Linked DNA regions of Homo sapiens: regions 1, 3, 4 and 5 are each linked to region 2. The links are contacts of gene promoters, found by promoter capture Hi-C in blood cells and fetal thymus (Javierre and others, 2016). All regions are on one chromosome and are shown on one strand. Each heading gives the region's core, a stretch centred on a gene start or on the middle of the fragment in contact. The rest is flanking DNA. Distances are from core to core; before and after follow the strand shown. Region 1 overlaps CARNMT1 (carnosine N-methyltransferase 1). Region 2 holds the start of ZFAND5 (zinc finger AN1-type containing 5). Region 3 overlaps CARNMT1-AS1 (CARNMT1 antisense RNA 1). Region 4 overlaps OSTF1 (osteoclast stimulating factor 1). Region 5 overlaps OSTF1 (osteoclast stimulating factor 1).

Region 1 (2,700 bases), core at 139-2,638, 2.7 Mb after region 2:
ACGTACTATATTCTTACAATAAAGCTAAGAAAATATTAAGAAAGTCGTAGGAAAGGGAAAATACATTTACACTACTGCACTGCATTTATCAATACTATAAGTTTACATAATTTGATTACAAGATGAATCCTCTGTCTGAAATGGGGTTGGGGGGCAACCTCCAACTGCAGACCTCTATCTACAGTACATATCAAACAAATCAACTTTTTCTTGTAATGTCTTTTTTCTCTGCTTCTTGGGAGCACCTGCAGCATCACCAGTGGCACGTCATATGGGACCCATGGTGTTATTTAAGGTTTATGGTATTGCATTAAATTTGATGAAATCTGTTTACTGCTATATGCAATTTACTTGACAGACAAAAGCAGAGTGATTATTTTAAGAAGATACTGGTAACATCTGAGCTTACTGCAAAAGCAACAGGAAGTGGCTACAAAATTATTACAGTAGTACAGTATCTACTACAGATAATTTTATGCAACTAAGATTTAATGCTACATCTTTGCTTGTTTACATTTATCTCAATTGCAAATAGCTCCATGTAAGATCTGTGTTTGTGTAAGTTTTGATAAATTTTAACTTTTTATAATAGATTTGTGTATATTTTATGGTAGTAAATGATAAACTAGTATCTACACATATGCATTCATGGCATAATTTTTTCTTAATTTTTTCACTATTTCTAGGCTATGCAAGTTTGCTAAGTTTTTCAAATTGTTGCAAATGTCAAAACAATTTTCCAATATGTTTATTTCAAAAAATTTGTGTATAAGTGGACCCGTGCAGTTCAGATCCATATTGTTTAAGGGTCAACTGTACTTGCTAAATGTGTAGAACCGGATTGTCCATCACAACCTACTTCGATAATGGAAAAGCTTTTATTTGCACTGTCCAGTACAGCAGACTCTAGCCACATGTAGCTATTGAGCACCTGAAATATGGGTAGTGAAACTGAGCAACTAAATTTTAAAGCTTATTAAATACTAATTAATTTTAGCTTAAATTTATCCAGATATGATTAGTGGCTACAGTTTAAGTCTAGAAGATCACAAAATATTAGAATGTAACAATCCACTGTTCTCTGCTACATAAACTTTCTGTACCCCTAGGCTTTAAGTGACATTTTAAAAAGCATATTTTTGATGTTATACTATTTTCAGCCCAAGTATTTGAAGTGTTTCAAGAGAGTATATACAAATAAAAACTGTTTTTTTTAAAAAATGAAATGTCCTGAATCCAACATTACGCTGGTAAAGAAGAGAGTATAGGAAATAGTATCACAACCACTAGAATATTCACACAAGATCTCTTCTCTATATTGCCACACTTCAGTTCCTGATCAACCCCTACCCCAACAAAGTCCCATCCCATACTTACCCATAAATATCAATTTTAAATTGGTCCTAATATATTAAAAGTAAGTACAACTACGCACTTAACTAAATGGGTCCACCATATTCCCAAGACATTTCCCAATATTCTTTCTAGATTTTTCAAGAGCAAAATGTACCAGACTTTTCTGTATCTCCCACTCTTAGCTATCTGATGTTAGCTGCCTTTCCTAACTTTATGGTTCTTTCCGTCACAATTCCTGCATCAAATTCAATTCTCTGATGGTCTGACGCCTTGCTCCCTCTGTTACTACTAAACCTGGAGAAATAAAATATCCAAACTTCTCTTTTGGGCTCCGTAAAGTAATGCTGTCCCTGGTCCCTATTTCTGGGTTTAATCAGTAAATTATTTCATCAAGATCTTCGAAGTTCAAAAGTTCCTATCACATATACAATCAGATTCCAAATAACTTTAAGCTTTCACTAAGCAAGCTTCTAAATTCAGACTAGTAAACTAATTTAACTATCAGTCAAAAACTTGACAGACTATTTGGGAATGAGAAATGTATTTCTTTGCTACTATTTGTTTTGTTAAAAATAGAGCTTAAACAACATATGCCAAGCACTAGTGACATAAAAATAAAAAAGACTCAGCCCCTGCCCTTGAGGAGGTCACAGCAAAGCAAGAGATTTATAAAAACAACTATAATACATAAGATGAACAATATAAAAAAACTTTGCATAAAGCACAGCAGGAACCCACCTATGGGAACAGGTTTACCTGCGTAGGAGGTCATGTCTGTCTGATTCCAACTGCAGCCTCAGAACATAGTCACCGGTGGACTCATATCTCTTACGTGAATAAAAGTGTTATCTTCACCTGAAAATCCAGTTGATTTAAGTCCCTTTCAGCTCTTGGAATTATAATTTTGTGATTAAGCTACTTTAACATCTATCTAGAAGAAACGTGGAAGTTAGGGAGCTGTTTTTATGAATGAGGAGCATAAAGGTCCTACCACAGTGCCTAGCACACCAGGGAGAATTAGATACAGATTTGCAGAAAAAAAGAACGTAAAGGCAGCTCTTATTGTGACTTCTCTCATCTCTCCTAATAATTAGCAAATTTTAGAATATCCGGACCACTTCCGCCCTTAATCACCCACCAGTTAAAGACACTGAGCAGCATCATTCAATCGCTCACACAAAAGTGCAAGTGCGTTCACAGCGCCAAAGAGGGGTGGGTGGAAATCTTAAACTGCTCTTACAAGCACTGGTAACAGTTTGGGAAAATACGTCCTACAGCATCCCACGCGTAGGTGAACTTGGGCTCTCCGTGTGTTCAGTTTGGAGGACATCGACCACACACACC
Region 2 (2,700 bases), core at 39-2,538:
CGAAAACACACCTCCACGGAGTGCGTGGAAAGCGAGCAAAAAATTTCACATTCATCAGCCTAAATGCACCAAACAAAGGAGGTGTTCCATTTCCTCCATGAAAACGGATCTCAGGATAAAAACGCAGCGACGTCGAGAAGCCCAAAAGACGACGCCGAGAACCCCCGGCCCCATGTTCCAATGGATTTTGGAACAAGTTCGGGTCCCACTGATACCCCATCCCCCTCTAAGCAAAGGCCTCACTCAATAAAGCCCAACAGGGCCCTCTCCGAAAACCACTGAGTCATGCAGAACAGCAGCTCAGCAGGCCCGGCCAGCCCTTCGCCTGCAGGCCCCACGCGGATCCCCGACCCCCGACCCCCGACCCCGAACGGCTCCTCTTAGGGGAGAGCTAGGGGGGGCTGCAACGGGCAGGGGGCGCGGCCGCCGCCTCGGCCTCTTTGTTTCTCTGGGTCGTGGTGCCCACGCCGGGCGCCGCCGCGGAGGCGAGCGGCCTAGAGGCCGGCCCCGCAGAGGCGGCACGCCGTGCATTGTTTCCCGACCGTGCTGTGGAGCGAGCCAGGGACGCCGGGAGCCAGGTCTCGGGCCACGACGACAGGATGACGCCTCCGTCTTTGTGCTTCCTGGGCTGGCGGGCGGGCTCCCCTCCCCCGGACGCCGCCATCCGCGGCCTGCTCCGGCTTCGCCATTGGCCCGCGGCGCCCCGGTCCCTTCACTCCCGCCCCCGGCCCGGCAACAAGGAGCCCGGCTCCCACCCGCAGCCCCGTATCACTCACCCTGCAGGGTCCCAAATGCGAAAGCCGGGTTCGCGCGCGAAGCCGGCACGATGAGGCCGGGCCGAGGCCTCCGGGAAGGCTGAGCCGGGCGCCCTGGTGCCGCCGCCGCGGGCCGGGAGCGGGTCGGAGCAGCAGGCGGAGGTGGCGCCGCCGCCGCCGCGGGGTCTTCCTTTGTTCCTGCAGCAGCGTCGAGCGTGGCCGGGACACGCCGGAGCTCGGGAAGTGGGAGGAGGGAAGCGAGGGGGGGCCGAGGAGGAGGTGGAGGGAGGACCGGCGGCCGCAGCGGCTAACGCTGCTCGAGGCGCTCGCCTGTCGTCGCCTCACGCCTCCACAGGCCGCAGGTTGGGCGGACGAGGAGGGCGAGCGGACCGCGCGCCGCGAGGCCTGGGGCCGTAAGGGCCCGCTGATGGCGCTCTTCGCCGCTCCTGCCACCGCCGGGGAAGCTGCGCGGCTCCCGGGAGCGAGCGAGCCCGCGTAGGAGATGCACACAGCTCCGCGTCCCGGCCGACTAACGCACTCGCCGCCCGGCGCCCGGGCTGTGAGGGAAAAGAGGGGGAGGGGGCGGGACCCGTGCGTCAGCGAAAACCCCGGCGGCGGCGGCGGCGGCGGGGAGCGCGGTGACGTCGCGGGCCCAAGGCCACGCCCCCGGTGCCCTGTCAGTAGGTCCAGGAGGCGGGGCCGAGACGGGTTGCTGTGCCTTCTCGCGGAGCCCAGCCACTGGCCTGGCAGTCGGCCCCTAGGGTGGAGCTGGGAAGAGCGAGTCCTGTGGAGGATGCGTTTCTATTTTTAACCCAATTGTCCGCCCTCAGCCTCCCTCCTTCGGATTTTCTCATTCAAACCCGTTTTTCGCCATCCTAGTTCTCACGCTTTGTCTCCAGCCCTGGGCAGACATTCCCTCCCCCAAGAATCGTAAGGATTCACCCCCAGAAAAGGAAAAGAATTGCCTTATGGCTTCGAGGTCTTTTCTGTTTATGAAACCTCCTCACTCCCCACACCCATTTTGAGCTCCGAAGTCCAGCCCGAGCGTGGCCCTGACGCAGCTGGCGGCGTGCGTTCGCTCGCCCAAGGTCACGGGTGGTTGTGCGGAGTGAGGAAACGCGCGGCCGCCCAGGGCTGCCAATGCCCCGGCGGCGCTGTTCTGAACAAACTGTTTTGGCCAGCCTGTGAAATCCCTGGAAATTGACGATTCCAGCAAAGCGTCGTGAACTGGGAAAGCACCAAATGTTCTACTCAAAAGCCGCGAAGGGACAAAACAAGCTAGACCCGAGGCCCAGATGAAGCGGGAGGAGGAGGCTTGCGAGAGGAAGTTCAAGGGGGGAGGTACTAGGCGGGCAGTTCAGGCACGAGGCACAGGTCCCCCATGGGTGAAAGGATGACTTTACCCGGAACACTGGGAACCTTTTCAGAGCACAAACAAAAAACATTTTCAACTGACCGCTCCAAGTGAATTTCAGTTCAACTCAAAATAACAAAATTACTAAGTCGGAAAGGACTTCTGAAATTTTCTAGTAAACAACGGTCTAACGAATACATAGAAATGATGTTTAGGGTTTATATTAGCCACATATAGAATGGAGAAGAGGTCCCTTCAGTGTTTCTCAAAGTTGGTAATCAGAAAAAAAATCACCTGGGGTGATTAAAGATTCCTACGCATCTCCCCTGGATATGGTTTTGGTTGTTCCGGGGTGGGAGCGGGGGTGGGGGGGGGCCCATATTGCGCTTCAGGTGGTCCTTATTTATAATCTGTATTTGGGGGAATGCTATACTGATAGCTTGAGCCACCACTGCCAAATCAAACAGTTCTCCGCCACAGTTAGCAAAGTACCTGGAGCATAACAACCTTTTGTTTTGTTTTTTAACAAATTCGGGTTTATTACTGTGATCAATTAATGTATTAGAGATTTAAGTAGTTTGGGTCACTGGT
Region 3 (2,700 bases), core at 196-2,695, 2.6 Mb after region 2:
TGGTTTATAGGTGTGAGCCACCGCATCTGGTCGTATTTACTATTTTAATAGTTTGATAAAGACAGTAACCAAGTAAGCAGAAATGGAAGGAAGAAAATAAGACTATTACCAGTGCTTTGAAGGGAAAAACTATCATCCTCTGTAGAAAAAGTGTGCAAGAAAGATAATTCTATTTTAGTGCTAGGTACTATCTCAGTACTAATTTACCCTGTACCCCTGCATCTCAAGGTGGTTGTGAGAGGACAAGTTAATTATTAGTTATTAACAAGCACAGAAATGTACCAAGTTAGGGTAGTAAGCAATAGCTTTTCTGTTTGGTTTTTACTTTTCTTGTTTGAAATTGGTAACCGGCCGGGTGCGGTGGCTCACGTCTTTAATCCCAGCACTTTTGGGAAGATGAGGTGCACAGATCACCTGAGCCCAGGAGTTCCATACCAGCCTGGCCAACATGGTGAAACCCCATCTCTACAGAAAATACAAAAATTAGCCAGAGGTGGTGCCTTGCACCTGTAGTCCCAGGGAGGCTGAGGTGGGAGGATCGCTTGAACCCTGGAGGCAGAGGCCAAGATTGCACCACTGTACTTCCAGCCTGGGTGACAGTGTGAGACCCTGTCTCCAAAAAAAAAAAAATAAATTGAAAACCCGTCTGTCTCAAACAGAGGAAGAGTTTTGCCATTTTTAAATCAGCAGGAAAGATCTTAATCGTAGTCATCAAGTGCTGTTTGAAAGGTTTTGAGTACCCCCAAAATAATAAGTTTAGCTAATGGTTGGTTCTTTTGTGTTCCTCTTTACAAACGCTCATTTTTTCAAAATTGTGAAACTTATCATATATGCAAAAGGTTGTATAAAATACACATGTAGTTAAAAGAATGATAGTAAGACATACAGCATTCTGTTTCAGAAATAGAATACTACCTATACTAGAACATGACAAGCTCCCTATGCGTCCCTTCCCCACTGGCACATACCCTTCCCTTTCCCTCACTCCCGGTAATTACCGTTTTACATGTTGAGTTAATCATTCCTTTGCTTTTTAACTCTTCCATTTGTATGTCTGTATGTATATTGCTAAATAACTTTTTTTTTTTTTTTTTTGAAACGGGGCTTGCTCTGTTGCCCTGGCTGGAGAGCAGTGATATGATTACAGCTCACTGCAGCCCTGACCTCTCAGGGGCAAGCAGTCCTCCCACCTCAGCCTCCTGAGTAGCTGAGACTACAGGTGTACATCACCACACCCAGCTAATTTTTAAAATTTTTTTGTAGAGCCAGGGTTTTGCCACGTTGCCCAGACTTGTCTCAAAGTCCTGAACTCAAACAATCTGCCTGCCCTGGCCTCCCAAAGTGTTGGGATTACAGGCATGAGCCACCACACCCAGCTTAATATATTTTCTGAGACCAGGTCTTGCTCTGTTGCCCAGGCTGGAATGTAGTGGCGTGATCACTGCTCACTGCAGCTTCAACTTCCTGGCCTCAAGCAATCCTCCTGCCTCAGCCTCCCAAGTAGCTGGGCCCATGGCTTGTGCCACCACACCCAGCTAATTTTTTATTTTTAGTAGCAACAAGGTCTCACTATGTTGCCCAGGCTTGTTTTGCCGGGCTTTTTTTTGTTTTTGTTTTTAAAACAGCTTTACCTAGGTCTAAATGACACACAATAATGTGCATATAAAGTGTACAATTTGACATTCATACACCTGTGAAACCATAACCACCATCAAGATGATCAAAGTTTTGAGAGCAGTCTTTGACATCTTGTTCTTTAGGAGTGTGTCAACTATACTTGGCCCTTTGTTCTTCCATAATAGCATCCTCTGTAACATTTAGTTACCCTTTTGGAATTTTGGTTATAATTGCATTGAGATTATAGATCAATTTGGGAAGAATTATTATCTTTACAATACCAAGCTCATTTCCTGTTCAAGAATATAACTATTTAAGTTTTTAAAAATCTTTCAATAAAGTTTTATATTTCTCAACATAAAGAGCTTATATCTTTGTTAAGTTTATCCCTAGGCACTTTATAATTTTTGTAGACAATATTCTTTTTCTTTTTAAATAACATTTTCTGAGTTTTTGTTGCTGCTCTGGGTTCTTTTTTTTTTAAGGCCCCAGAAGTAGAATTTGAAATTAGTTTACCCTAAGTTGTAAGTAGTACCAGATCCACTTGTTCAAGGAATTTGTCCATTTCATTCATCACATTTGTTGGAATATTTTCTTAGTTTCTCTTTTTCCCATTTCATTGGCTTCTACTAAATTTGGATTTACTTTGCTCTTCTTTCTCTAGCTTCTTCTAATAGAACCTAGGTCACTGATTGTAGTCTTTGTTAGTTTCTTTTTGGAGACAGAGTCACTCTGGCTGGAGTGAAGTGGCACGATCTTGGCTCACTGCAGCCTCTGCCTCCCAGGTTCAAGCGATTCTCCTGCCTCAGCCTCCCGAGTAGCTGGGACTACAGGTGCATGCCACCGCACCTGGCTAATTTTTGCATTTTTAGTAGAGGTGGGGTTTCACCATGCTAGCCAGCTTGGTCTCAAACTCCTGACTTCAGGTGATCCACCCACCTCGGCCTCCCAAAGTGCTGGGATTACAGGCGTGAGCCACCGTGCCCAGCCGTCTTTGTTAGTTTCTAAAATAAACACTTAAAGCTGTAACTTTCCCTGTAGCACTGCTTGGGCTACATCCTACAAATTTTGGTATGTTGTATT
Region 4 (2,700 bases), core at 33-2,532, 2.8 Mb after region 2:
AATGAGATTAATTGCCTAAAGCTGCTTTTACTATTAAGGAGTAATTGTTACTATCGAAGGAATAGTGGTTGCTATATTAATAGACATTTAACAGATATTTTTGATGGGTTGTGTATTGATTTATTTACTTCCAATTCTACTCTAAGATGGAGTTTCTCCACTGCTTTTAAAAAAATCTTAGTTATTATTGAATATACAGGAGAATATACATTTAATTCTTTAGGCTTTAAAAAATATTCTATATTTAAAATGTTGTATTTTTAATATTTTTAGTCCCAAGGATTATAGGCTACAGTCAGTAATGACCACTTCAAGCCCTGTTGCCTCTATATTTCTCCCCTGTTCAGCTCCGTTCAATTCAGGTATGAAGGGGGTAGCATCTGGTACAGCAGGTAGCCTCTAGCTCCCACAGACCTTCCTGACTGGTTAAGTGCCATGCCATACCCATTGTTAAATTTTGAATCTCATTCCAGAACTAGGTTAGTCTTATCTTCTTTTTCTGAATGAGAATTTCTGTTGGAAGCTGTTTGGTCTCTCTCTCTCCCCTCTGACCAGCAGCCATCTTCTCTGGAGGGATAGATACACCACAGCATATCCTAAGCTGACCTGGCCTCCTCGAAATCACTGGGACCAGGCAATATTGAAAGGCTGAGGTGGGCTCTGAGGGACATTGCTGGCATGTGCAGCTCCCCAGGCAGGCCTGGGTCCAGTTTTAAGCTCCTGTTCCCCCTCAGGAGATGGGGACAGCAATGCGCAACCCCAGTCTTGGGGATCCATTGAACAGGAAGAACGCTAGGTAGCTCCTGGTTCTTCCTGCCAACCCATTTCTCATTTGTCTTGCTTAAAGGCAAGGGTGTCTTGGCACCACCCAGCCCCATTTGGTTCTTTTTTCTCACCCAGCTCCTTTTAATAAAGTGTCAACCACGGACCTGGCTGGACTGAATTGACGAGTGTCAAGACAGACTGATGAGGAGGGAACAGAATTTCCTGTGTTAAGAGGAGCATTGATTTCCAAAGGGAAACCAGCAGGACCCTGCTCTGTCATGTAAAGGTTGCTGGGCTGCACTAGGTTAATAGAGCCACGTGTAGAGGAAGGAGACTGGGAATCTAAGAGCTGAGATAGGAGCCCAGCCCTGCCACTCACTCTGATTTGTAGAGAGTTTTTAACTTCTCTAAGCCTGGTTGTGAAATAGAGATTATATCCATGACCCATCCAAGCCTAGTGAGTTGTGAGGACCAAATGAGGTCAAGTATACTTTGCAAGTAAAATATGCTGCCATTGGTTTTGTTATACTGTACTATAGGGGTAGGGCAGTTGGGAGTGTATACAGACAGATATTTTCCAAGGTGGCCAGCTGTTAATCTGGTCATGACACCATGATGGCCAATAATGGCTGTGTGTGATGCCTTTTGTATGAGAGAAAGCACAGGTGGTGGGTAAGAGCAGGGACTTCGTAATCTGACTTATAGTTCAAGTCCAGGTTCTACCATGTACCTGCTCTATGGCCTTGGAGAGGTTTCTCATCTGTAACATGATGATAAGAATAGCACCCACTTCATAGTGTTCTTGGTGAGGAACAAATTAGTTAATATTTCTGAATGCCCAGACCAGTACGTGGCACATAATATATACTATAAAGTGTTGAATAAAAACATCTGTGGAGAATTTGTTTTCTCTTTTTATTAATTTTGGGGGCTTCAGACTGACAAATCTTAAAAATTTCAAAAGTATATCAGTTTTTCTAAACTTTTCATAAAATATATTTGCATAAACCAACAAAATTAATGCCTTGGGAATTATATGTTACCAAGAATATATGGAATGGGAATATATGTTACCAAGTGTGTACTCTTTGCTGTAACATCCCAGTGGACAACAGCCTACTTATTCTGATACCTTGCTGTTCTTCAAGGAGAGAGGAAAGGAGGAATGTAGTTAAAAAACAAAGAAAGGCCGGGCGCAGTGGCTCACGCCTGTAATCCCAGCACTCTGGGAGGCCGAGGCGGGTGGATCACGAGGTCAGGAGATCGAGACCATCCTGGCTAACACGGTGAAACCCCGTCTCTACTAAAAATACAAAAAAATCAGCCGGGCGAGGTGGCAGGCACCTGTAGTCCCAGCTACTCCGGAGGCTGAGGCAGGAGAATGGCGTGAACCCTTGGGGGGCGGAGCCTGCAGAGAGCCGAGATCGTGCCACTGCACTCCAACCTGGGCGACAGTGAGACTCCGTCTCAAAAAAACAAAAAAACAAAAAACAAAAAACAAAGAAAAGCTGGAAACAGAGAAGTGCATACTTCATTATGTTATTGTTTTCCCATTTCTGTTCCCTAACTGTGATGCTGGGAATTTAAAAGTAGGTGCTCATTGAACAATTTAGATCAGGTATCCTGCTAGTGGTTTCTTAATGGAAAATGTGAATATTGCAGGTGAAATCTGTTGTTAAAATAATGAAATTACCGTGTTGTATGTACTGCCACCAACACTGTGAAGAATTTGGTACTTAGCTAGATTAGGAAAACGTGTCCCTAGTTTCTTTAGAAGAAGACATTTTACGAGTAGTAGCATTCCGTGTCTGGGAGCTATGGATTAAAAGAGAATAAACTGTCGACTGTAATTTCTCGGGATGAAAAAATGAGGTCACTTTTTGCCTGACTGAAATGGACTGCCTGTTCTCATTGCCTCAGTTGAAAAACAAGTCT
Region 5 (2,700 bases), core at 41-2,540, 2.7 Mb after region 2:
TCATGTGCCTTGTGAAAATAAATTCATGGAACTTTGAAGAAGCAAATGTCAGTGTTTCAGGTTTTTTTGTTATTCAGAGTAAAAACATCATAAAACTTAAAAGACATCACACGCATGCTGCTTAAATAACATTTTTGAGAAAAAAAGGTTTTTATCTAAAATGAACTTAATTTTTATGTATTTTTTACCCCAACAAAGGAATTAATCAAAAGTGAGGTGAAATATGCACGTGAATAGTCTTCTTTTATAAACTTGATACTTTTTATACCTGTTGGCAGAATAAAGCCTGAGAAACATCTTGAAAATTTCACAATGATGATGATGATGGGAATGGTTAACATATATTTGGCCCCATATGTCAGGCACTGCACCCAGCACTGTGTATGCTCTGTCTCCTTTAATTATTCTGACTTTCCTATCAGGTGGGTGGGTCCTCATATCCCTGTTTTATGGATGAAGTAGTACTTAATGAGGTCAAGTAAACTATCTAAGATCTCAAAGCTAGTGAGTGGTTGGTGTGACCTGGAAGTGGAACAGAAGCTTTAATTGAGTCCATGCATATGAGCAGAGAAACCTGCCAGAGATGTTATTGGGTTGGACCTGCTTTTGTTGGACAGTCATTTTATTAGCTTATGCAGTTGTATTATTGGTATTTGGTTTGTGTAACTGCCCTCTTTCAATGGATCCGTATTAGAGCATTAAACTATGCACTTTTTGAGAGTGGAACAGTCTTTTATTTCTTTGTAACTGCACAGCCACTAAATCGTTATGAATGACAGATAATGTAAAACGCTTTGATACAAAAAAAAGGTGGGTTTTTTTTTTTTTCCCTGAAAGAAGGTGGGGGTGGACTCAGAGACTGTGATTGGGCTTTTCTTGTAGCTTTACTACAAAGTAGCAAAGGCTGGAGGTTATGTGCTTCTGATAAGCATTCCTCCCTTCTGGAAATACTGGGGTCCCCTCCCTTGGCGTTTCAGCATTCCCACAATTTGACTTACGTGACTAGTGCAGTGAGATTTTCTAATACACACCTTATACCTCAGGGCATAACAGAACCCATTGCCAAAGTTGTCCTCACTTGCTTAATGGACAGGGAAAGACTACATTAAAAAAAAAATGATACAGGGACACCTTTCAGTGGGCTGATATGAGTGAGGTGTCAAGATTCTCTTATCAAATTAAAGGAGTTTCAGAAAAATGTACAGGCCAGGCACAGTGGTTCACACCTGTAATCCTGGCACTTTGGGAGGCCCAGGCAGGCAGATTGCTTGAGCCTAGGAGTTTGAGACCAGCCTGGGCAACATGGTGAAACCTTTTCTGTACAACAAATATGAAAAAATTAGCTGGGCTTGGTGGTGCGTGTTTGTAGTCCCTGCTACTTAGGAGACTGAGGTGGGAGGATCACTTGAGCCTGGGAGGCCAAGATCGTGCCACTGCACTCCAGCCTGGGTGACAGAGCGAGACCCTGTCTCAAATAAACAAACAAACAATACAACACAAATATTAGAACCAGGAGAACTTCCTGGTTCTTTTAAATAACTACATAGTATTCTGCTGAGCTCATTTAACCAGACCCTAATTAACGTACTTCTGGATTGTTTTCAATCTTTTGTTATAACAAATAGTCTCCCAATAGTATTGTTGTTGCTTACACACGTAAATCCATAGGATAAAGTCCTGGCAGTGGGATTTGTTGTTTCAGAGGGTAAGTGCACTGCTGTTTTCATAGAAATTTCCAAATCGCTTTTCAAAGAGGTCATACCAGTTTACTTCCCTACCAAAAATGTATGAGCATGTCTTAAACAGAAAAATCTCAGTGCTTGTGATAGGAGATGTTATCAAAGTGTGATCAGAGGGCTGGGAAGCATGGGGCAAGGAGCTTGAGGCAGCTGAGAAGATGTTACGGAAGAGGAGTAATCTAAGCAGAGTTCCCAATGCTGAGTAAGAGTTTGCTGGGCAGCAAAGGGGGAAAAGTCATTTGATTCAGGCAGAAATGAAATAATGCATCCTCCTGTCCACATTTGTCTAACTAAATAAGGGCTAAGCTTCTTTCAGAGAAGTCAAGGAAATTTGGTATGTGCACAGAGAACTGTGAACCAGATAATTTTCTCTGAATAAAGGGAAGGCCGTTTACCCAGTGTAACAGTTTGTGAAAAATGGTATTGCTCCACACAGAAAGCAAGAATTTAAATGCACACGTCAGCCCTCTTCACAGATTGCTTATCTGTTTCTCAGTGTTAACAGTTGCTGTAGGTGTTTAGTTTAGGGCAACGAGTTGAAGAGATTTAGCAACTGCAAATCAATTAAACAAGTTATTGGTGTGACTGCTGTGGCCCCCCTTTTTTTTTTTTTGAGATGGAGTCTTGCTCTGTCGCCCAGGCTGGAGTGCAGTGGCGCGATTTCGGCTCACTGCAACCTCCGCCTCCCGGGTTCACGCCATTCTCCTGCCTCAGCCTCCTGAGTGGCTGGGACTGCAGGCGCCCGCCACCACGCCTGGCTAATTTTTGGTATTTTTAGTAGAGTCAGGGTTTCACCGTGTTAGCCAGGATGGTCTCGATCTCCTGACCTCCGTGATCCACCCGCCTCGGCCTCCCAAAGTGCTGGGATTACAGGCGTGAGCCACCGCGCCTGGACATGCCCCCTCCTTTTTATTCTTCCAGTCATTTACCACTTTATGTCTGTGCATCTGTAGGATTTTTA

The links. Contacts are between HindIII fragments. The CHiCAGO score rates a contact against its expected background, and 5 or more counts as called.
Region 1: a fragment that was not itself captured here is called in contact with the fragment with the promoter of ZFAND5 in region 2 in 2 of 17 cell types (fetal thymus and total B cells); the score reaches 8.4 in fetal thymus.
Region 3: a contact is called between a fragment that was not itself captured here and the fragment with the promoter of ZFAND5 in region 2, in 3 of 17 cell types (total CD8 T cells, non-activated CD4 T cells and naive B cells). The highest score is 7.8, in total CD8 T cells.
Region 4: a fragment that was not itself captured here is called in contact with the fragment with the promoter of ZFAND5 in region 2 in 1 of 17 cell types (neutrophils); the score reaches 5.2 in neutrophils.
Region 5: a fragment that was not itself captured here is called in contact with the fragment with the promoter of ZFAND5 in region 2 in 1 of 17 cell types (fetal thymus); the score reaches 5.1 in fetal thymus.

Annotation. Positions count from the first base shown.
Region 1 is chr9:75,024,941-75,027,640 of GRCh38, forward strand. The region is part of intron 1 of CARNMT1 (carnosine N-methyltransferase 1); the gene reads right to left. Among named protein-coding and RNA genes, the nearest start is that of CARNMT1, 2.0 kb to the right of the region's middle. RefSeq lists an enhancer at 2,185-2,234. The HindIII fragment of the contact is 836 bases long and covers 971-1,806 here.
Region 2 is chr9:72,363,920-72,366,619 of GRCh38, forward strand. It overlaps ZFAND5 (zinc finger AN1-type containing 5), which reads right to left and starts at 1,289. Exons shown (of 7, transcript NM_001102420.3): 1 at 777-1,289. RefSeq lists enhancers at 292-995, 996-1,700 and silencers at 308-1,137, 1,148-1,527. The HindIII fragment of the contact is 8,298 bases long and covers 1-2,700 here.
Region 3 is chr9:74,954,063-74,956,762 of GRCh38, forward strand. The region is part of intron 1 of CARNMT1-AS1 (CARNMT1 antisense RNA 1); the gene reads left to right. Among named protein-coding and RNA genes, the nearest start is that of CARNMT1-AS1, 2.4 kb to the left of the region's middle. The HindIII fragment of the contact is 4,014 bases long and covers 1-2,700 here.
Region 4 is chr9:75,121,188-75,123,887 of GRCh38, forward strand. All of the region lies in intron 2 of OSTF1 (osteoclast stimulating factor 1), which reads left to right. Among named protein-coding and RNA genes, the nearest start is that of OSTF1, 34 kb to the left of the region's middle. The HindIII fragment of the contact is 9,426 bases long and covers 1-2,700 here.
Region 5 is chr9:75,093,558-75,096,257 of GRCh38, forward strand. The region is part of intron 1 of OSTF1 (osteoclast stimulating factor 1); the gene reads left to right. Among named protein-coding and RNA genes, the nearest start is that of OSTF1, 6.4 kb to the left of the region's middle. The HindIII fragment of the contact is 1,505 bases long and covers 539-2,043 here.